Linked DNA regions of Homo sapiens: region 1 is linked to region 2. Evidence: promoter capture Hi-C in 16 types of primary human blood cells and fetal thymus (Javierre and others, 2016). All regions are on one chromosome and are shown on one strand. The core of a region is centred on a gene start or on the middle of the fragment in contact, and the rest is flanking DNA. Distances in the headings are between cores, read along the strand shown.

Region 1 (3,801 bases), core at 947-3,446, 150 kb before region 2:
ATCAGGTACAGTCCTTTCCCTGGGGCTGGGGTGGGGCTAGGAGCAAGGGTTTTGTTCAAGTGTGTTACTGGCCAAAGGGGCTTGAAGCCAGGCCCAGAGGTGGGTGAGGCAAATATCCCTTTGGGACAGAGCAAATCTCCCTCCAGGAAAAGAAGACAGCTGGACCTTGCCTGTCTGGGCCATGATGAGCCAAAAGAGTTAGTGTGTTTGACTTTACAACCTACCAACCCTTTCACAGGTATGGTCTCATTTGGGCCCTCCAGCCACCTATCAGGGAATAAATGTGTTTATAGGTGAGGAGAGGAAGGCACGAGGGCAGAAGATGCTTGCAGGAGGAGCAGGTGGTGGCTGGAACTCATGGCTCCAGATCCCTTGCTGACTCTATCACCTATCTAATGGGAGGAGCTGACACTCGTACACTTCCCCGGCTGTGGACTGAGCCCACTAGGGAGGTAGGGTGGTCCCTCCAAGCTTACACCATGCCCTGTGCTGGAAGGCAGAGTAAACCCACACTGAACAACTAAATTTCCAGGTTTCATCCCCGACTCAGCTGCAGTTTGGGAAGCCACTGCTGCTCCCTGGGACTCAGTTTCCCCACCTGGAAAAGCCAAGCCCTGTCCAGTTGATGAAGCTCAGGTAGGCTTCAGTGAGACTTGAGCACAACTAGGCTTTGTGCCTTGTTGGACTCCAGTCACTAGCCAGGAGTTTCCAGAAGCTTCTGTGGGAGATCATCCTCACCCCATCCCTCTCCCTCCACCTTCCTGTTCTCTTCCCATCCTCTTCTCCCACTGTCCTTGTCCATGAGATCTGAATAAAAGCAAAGCAACTTGTAAGTGCTCTCCACTTCCCTGTCCAGCAGCTGCTCCAGTGAGCACCATGGCAGCCACAGAAGCTGCCAGGAGAGGACACTTTATGGGAAGAGGACTCTGGATGGGGCTGTGCCTCCTCCCAAGGGGTGAGTGGTGATAGCAGGACTTACTCCAGGCTTTCAATGACTTTCACTTCAAAAAGGAGCCCACGATGGAACAGCCCAAATGTCCATCAGTGGATGAATGGACAAACAAGATGTGGTCTGTCCATACAATGACATGTTATTCAGCCATAAAAAGGAATGAAGTACTGACCTGGGCTACAAGGAGGAACCTTGAAAATGCGACGCTACGTGTAAGAAGCCGGACTCAAGAAGTCATGTAGTGTGTGATTCCATGTGTATGAAACACCTAGAACAGGTAAATCCATAGAGATAGAAAACAGATTGAGCAATGGCCAGGGGCTGTGGGGACAGGAGAATGGGGAGTGACTGCTTAATGCCTCTGCGGTTTCCTTTTCAGGTGGTGAAAAACGTTTTGGAACTAAATAGAGGTTGCACAGAGGTTGACAGCAGTGTCAATATACTAAATGCCACTCATCAAATGGCTAATTATTTGTAATGTGATCTCAATTTTTAAAAATGGGGCTAATGCAGTAGGCGCAGGGTACCTGCACCGCCCACCTCCCCAGCCTTGGCCACCTCTAGCTTCCCACTGCAGGGCCCACCAAACACCCTCCTCTGCTATCCTCCTTCAATTCCAGGCCAGCCTTGACCTGGCAGAGGGTTTTTAAACCACCTGATGCTGAGCCACTGCCCCTGGGGTTCCACAAATCTTAACACAATTGTCCCCATTTATTAAGCACCTATTGTATACTATGCCCTTGCTGAGGCAGTCCTACACCTCTGTCAGGCAGGCACATTCTCAAGCTCGACATGGGAGAGAGATGGCTCTCATTTCATGGGCTGATGGTGAGGACATGGTGTCCAGCCTGTCTCAGTAAGCACCCAGTGTGAGACAGCTGCTCCAGTCACTGTGAGATTATTGCAGTCTTTGTTTCACACGTGTCCAGGCTCTGGGCTCAAGTGACCTGTTCAAGCTCAGCCAGCTGGTGTGAAAGGTCCATTGGGCCTGTGACAATTGCAGGCCGAAACATGGAGTTTTGACACAGAGGAAAGGGAAATGGGCAGTTGTTTGAGGGTTGGGGCTCCTGGGACATGATGAAGAGGCCTGCAGAGCCCTGAGCCTGTGGCCTCAGAGAAGAGCAGGCCTGAGTAGGACAAGGACAGAACACAGGAGCTTCAGAACAGAGGGACAGACAGAAGGTAGAGGTAGTAGGAGCTGGAGGGGCAGGGAAGGCTGCACAGGACCCTCGGGAAACAAAGGGGTTTTTCTCACCTATAAAATGAGGCGATGACACCATCCCTGGAAGCAGATCTGGTAACCAGTCCCAAACCATAAGCAAGCAGCCTCAGGCCAGATGTAGCCAGCACTAGAAGCCATTCTGCTTCCTGGGCAGGGTCTTGAGCTGTCTCCAGCCCAGACAGAGTCCTCCAGGGCTCTAGAACTTCATCTGGTCATTTGTCCAGTAGTCTCAGCTGACAGATGAGGAAACTGAGGTCTGGAGCGGGTTTAAGGGACTTGCCCATGGTGTCATTGCAGAGTGCGGCTGGGGCCTGGGTCACACACTCCTTCACTGCACCACGCTGGAAACCTAGATTGATAAGAGACAACAGGGAGCCCAGGACCCGGTGGTGTGAGACTGAGGTCCCGGAAGGCCGCATGTCCCCAGTCTCTCTCCCTAGACTTCTCCCCTGTCCTGGAATCTCACCATTAGAGAAGGACTTGCTGGGAGTAAGGGGCCACCTACTACTCCATGTTTGGGGTTAGTTTATCATCCCAAGGTTGGGACTGTGTAGAGTCAGTCTTTCCCCTGAAGGTATCTTTGGGCCGGCTGCTCAGGCCTGTCATCCCAGCACTGTGGGAGGCCGAGGTGGGCATGATGCTTGGGCTCAGGAGTTCAAGACCATCCTGGGAAACATGTTGAAACCCCAACTCCACAAAAAATACAAAAATTAGCCAGCCATGTTGGTACCCACCTGTAGTCCCAGCTACTCAGGAGGCTGAAATGGGTGGATTGCTTAAGCCCAGTAGTTTGAGGCTGCAGTGACCTGAGATCACACCACTGCATTCCAGCCTGGGTGACAGACAGAGACCTTGTCTCAAAAAAAAAGTATCTTAGGAGACACCTAGTAGAATTCCCCATACAGTCCCTCAGTAAACCTGCAAGGGCAGATTTTCCCCCCAGCTTGGCTTGGATCCCTGTTTCTTTGGTGGACACCAGAAGGAGTAGCTGGCTTGTGTTTCAGGATCATGTATGATCATGCAGCACCATCTGTTCCCCCAGGGTCACTCCCAGCACCTAAATGAACTTGTACTGTGAGGGAGACTGGAGGCCCAGCGGGAGCAGATTCATGCCTCACCCTGGGGACCCATCACCAAGAGGAACTAGCATGGGGGTCTCCTGCACCAGCCAAGTCATTCTCTCCTCACTGTCACTCTGGACCAAGCGTGTTCTGTGGAAGTGGCCTGAGTCCCTGGTCATGGGCCGCTTGTATCTGGGGCAGGGGGTGAATCACTCACTCCCTGCATGCTCCTGGGCAGGTGTGTGGCAGGTCTTTTCCAGGCCACATGGTGGCGTGAAGAAAGAGCATGGGCTCAGAATCATCACAACTGGGTTTAAATCCTGGCTTTACCATTTCCTCTTTCTGTGAACCAGTCAAATTTCCCACCCTGTCTGGCTCTTGTTTCCTTATTTGTCAAAAAAAACCCAGCAAGATAGTTAAGGATATAACCAAACAAGCTTTTCATGTAACAAGCATTACACGTGTAACACACACACACACTCTCTCTCTCGCCTTTCCCTGGGGTGGGTGTGGAGATGTTGATAGGGACATGGAAAGGAGAGTCAGAGGTTGTTGCTCTGGGAGGC
Region 2 (3,941 bases), core at 586-3,085:
AGGAGGGCAGAGCCAACGTTGAGGCCCAGAGAGGGATGGCAGGGCTGCCCCAGAGCACCCAATGGCTGAGCCACACATGGAGCTCCCATCTGTCAGGGGTCTCTGAGCCCCGACTCTTCTCATCACGCCACCCACCTTGCCCTGCCTGGCCCCCTTCCCTCTAGACCCATCTCAGAAGGCCCCAGGCCCTGTCTTACCAGCTGTCTTTGGGACGACATCTGCCTTCAGCTGTTGGGGGAGAAGAAGGACAAAAGAGGATGGTCATTGGAGAGGCAGGTGAAGGTGGGTGTCTCTCAGCACCCACCCACCCCCACAGTGGCCAAGGAGGCTAAGGAAGAAGCACGTGGACATTCCATTCCCATTATTGCCAACCCCCATGGGAGGCAGCTCTATCATTTCTGGGAGCCGTTTCCTGAACCCAAGGCTGGAGGAGGTGGCCTTGGTTTCCTAATCTGTCAGAAGAGATGACAATGCTATCTTGGCCTACTTCTGTGGACACAGCTGGCAGTGCTCCCACAGCTGGGCCCAAAGCATCAGAAATTCAGGGACAAGAGAGTGTGTCTAAGGTAGAAGCCAGACCAGCTCCTCCATTCGGGGTTGGGAAACTGAGGCCCAGGGAGAGGCATGAGGGTGTGGGGAGGGAAGGCTGAAGCCCCATCCCAGCCAGCCTCTACCCTCGAAGCTGCAAGACCCACCCTGGAACCAAATGGAAGCAGGAAGGGTGTCCCTATTTTCCAGAAGAAACTGAGAATGAAGAAGAAATACTAAGGGCTCCCTGGGATACGGGCCAGTCAACACAAACAGACCCCTGCTGTCAATGTGTGGCCGACCTGAAGGCTCCACTAGGGCTTTCCCTCTAAAGCTACCCTGGTGACTGTTTCTTACTTTGCTTTAGAAAAGACCCAAAAACAGAGTTAGGGGAGGTGCTCAGTGTGGCCCCCAAGGACAGTGGCAGGGGTTGAGGCGCCGGGCACACTGTCTCTGAGTGTGTCCCGACTCGCAGGAGGGGCATTCTGGGGTCCACCAGGTGGCCGGGGCCTGAGGCCTACTGGGCCCGCACTACTGCTGGAAACCACCTCTCGCTCCATTTCCCAGCACCCCCAGTGTGAGCCCGACCGCAGGGGCGGGGCCGGAGCCAGGAAGCGCTCCGTGTTGTGCAAGGGCCGCCACGTGAGCACCCGCTGGGCCACGACGCTCACCCCAAGACCCCCGACACCCACCTCGGAGCTCCGGATCTAGGCTCAGCCCCAGAAGGCTCCTGGAGCCCCTCCCTCGTGCCCGGGCCGGCCCAGAGGTGCTGAGCCCTCCCTCTCTGCGATCTGACCTTGAGCTTTCTCCTCCACACGTGCCCTCCCTCCCGTCTCCCCCGCTCCAGTGCTCCGAGGGAGGCCGGAAGAAATCATTCTGACGCCCATTCTCAGAAATGGGGAAACTGAGGCCCAGAGCTCGGCATGGGGAGGCCCAAGGTCACCCAGCGCGCCCGGCACCGCGCCGCCCGGGGCCCAGGGCTCTCCCCGGGCCCGTGTCCCGCGCCCAGGCCGGCCCTGCGAGCGGTCTCACCTCCAGCACCACGCGGCCGAGCGGCTTCCCGTTGGCGTCCACGTCCAGGTACACGAGCGGGTTCCCGGAGGAGGAGGAAGAGGACGGGTCGCCGGAGCCCTTGCTGCAGGCGCGGGCCGCGGGGAGGCGCAGCGGCACGGAGCGCGGGACGGAGAGCAGGCCGAGCCAGCGGGAGCCGCAGCGCAGCGCCAGCATCGCGGGCGCGGGTCGGGCGGGACACGGGCGGGGAGAACACAGAACTCAAACTGACGTCGCGCGCGCCCAGAAGGCCGAGTCCCGCGCAGCCGCGCGCCGCAGCCTTTATTGGCTTGCCCAGGTTCCCGGCCCTGCCCCCGTCCCGCCTCCTCCAGGCCTGTCCGTGGACTACCCCTGCCGGCCGCAGCGGGCAGCGCAGCCAGCCGGTGGGGCCGCGGAGCGTGAAGTGCTTTGAAACACTCCCGCCTCCAGGCCCAGAGACCCGGAGAACAGACACCTGGCAAAAGGTTGCTGGTTCCATGTTTATTAAGGTACCAGCAGATTTTTTTAAAAAAAGAAAAACTGCTAAAACGTAATTAATTCCAAAATATGAGCATCTATACGTTGCAATTTGAATATAATAGCAAAAGTCTACCTTTGAGCCCTTTGCAGGTAAGGCTCAGGCCAAATAAGCTTCCCTGCTGCCCTAGGTCCTGCAGTCTGAGAGGGTTAGAGAAAGGTGAGATGAGAGGCGGGATTAGTGAGCTAGAGGCGCAAGAGGGAGGAGATAAGCTGAGACACCTCCCATGATGCCCCCTAGCCTGCTTGTCCCGGCCTGGGCCTGTCTCTAGTTGTTTCTGGGGACCAGACCTGCTTCTAGCAAGACTGAAAACGCAGCCTGGGCTCATCATGCTCCTTTCAGGCCCCCAGCCCTCCCCAGGACTGGGTCTGATCCCTCCTCCTAGGACCCACACTGACAGCCCCGGGGCAGACTGCCAGCTGCCCCCTCCCATCAGCATGCACCCTGGGAGGGGACTCAGTGGGGAGACCCACAGCAGGAGCATTTAAACCCCACGTGCTGAAAGTGGGCTTCCCAGCAGCCAGAGCCACCCTCACTGCAAGGTGGTGGGAGGTCTGCAATAAATGGATGCCACGCAGGGACCTGAGAGAGCATCTGGCCCAACACTTGTACTGTCCCCAGGGGAAGCTGAGGCCTGGACACAGGAAGGCACTGGCTAGGGCTAGGGAGCCCTGGAGTATTGCTACCAGCTTGCACCAGTGCTCCAGGCCTCTCTGGGCCTCAGTTTCCCATCTGGAGGGTAAGGGTGCGATCATGCTCCTCATCCTGCTTTTTTCTCGTGTCTGTTCTTAGGATAAAATGAACGAGAGAGACATGGATTTGTCAACTAAGTACTGTGCCTGTGGGCATCTGTGATGGACAGAGTCTGGACTGTCTTTCTCACAGTTTGGGATTCAGAGAGCTGCGGTCTCAGTTAGAGGCCTGAGGGGTCAGAGAAAGGGGTGGGGCTGAGCCTTGGAGGCAGGTGGGCAGGAGTAGGGACCAGCTCTGGACTGACCTGCCCCAGATCCTGAATGGGCTCATGGGAACAGGTCAGGCAGCAAAATGCCAGCCAAGCAAATTCATGAGGTCAGAGCAGTGCCCTAGCTTCATAAGAATGCTAGCTTGGCCTCTGGAAGTTTGGCTAGCTTGGCTTCTGGAAGTTCATAGCCCCCTTCTCCGATTCCTGGCCTAGGAGGGGCCTAGGCACCCAGTGAAGCCCAGGTGGGATGCATTCCAGGTCCCAGCCCAGAATGGGGCCTCACTCTGCCCTGGGGAGCAGCCCCTCCTTTCTTATGATTGTGCCCTGAGGTGAGCAGGCCTGAGTGGGGAGCCCACTTGAGCCCTCAGCACATGTCCCAGACCTTCCTCTACCAGTGCATCCTGTGGATTTGAGAGTGGAGGAATCACGCCATGTGCCTTGTCATGAAGCTTCCTTAAGGCCCCAGGCTTCCCTGCGGCCAGTTCCAGGCCCTGAGCTCACAGGACCTTCAGCCACAGCAGGTAGCTCAGCGTACCCTGTTGTTTCTCAAGCCTGCTCCTGGGGGGACTCAGTTTATGCCCCATCCTGATGAAGCATGAGCATCCCCACCCCAGGGGAGTGCTGCCTTCATTCACTTGACCACTTCAGTTCTCAGAACCCTTTCCCAGCTGTGAACTCTGCCTGAGAGACAGCTCTGTTTTGCAGATGGGGAAGCCAGGCCCCAGGGGCTGGGGAGTGAATTGCCCAAGGGCAGGCTGTTGGAACTGGGACCAGTCTGTCTGACTTCACAATCAGGGTTATTGCATGTCAAACCCTTCTCACTCTCACCACGAAGCTGGTCCTTGGGACAGGGTGGGGAGGCAAGAGAGATAAGCCTGGGCAGAC

Evidence for each region. Contacts are between HindIII fragments. The CHiCAGO score rates a contact against its expected background, and 5 or more counts as called.
Region 1: a fragment that was not itself captured here is called in contact with the fragment with the promoter of PPIF in region 2 in 1 of 17 cell types (M1 macrophages); the score reaches 5.1 in M1 macrophages.

What each region holds. Positions count from the first base shown.
Region 1 is chr10:79,491,089-79,494,889 of GRCh38, reverse strand. No RefSeq gene overlaps it. Among named protein-coding and RNA genes, the nearest start is that of EIF5AL1, 20 kb to the left of the region's middle. RefSeq lists a cis regulatory region at 3,310-3,801. The HindIII fragment of the contact is 2,957 bases long and covers 718-3,674 here.
Region 2 is chr10:79,345,363-79,349,303 of GRCh38, reverse strand. PPIF (peptidylprolyl isomerase F) reads right to left here and starts at 1,835. Exons shown (of 6, transcript NM_005729.4): 1 at 1,561-1,835; 2 at 198-228. The coding sequence starts at 1,755. RefSeq lists an enhancer at 1-87, cis regulatory regions at 854-1,354, 1,037-1,537, 1,066-1,566, 1,569-2,091, 1,559-2,091 and 5 more and silencers at 1,402-1,631, 1,652-2,061. The HindIII fragment of the contact is 8,142 bases long and covers 1-2,210 here.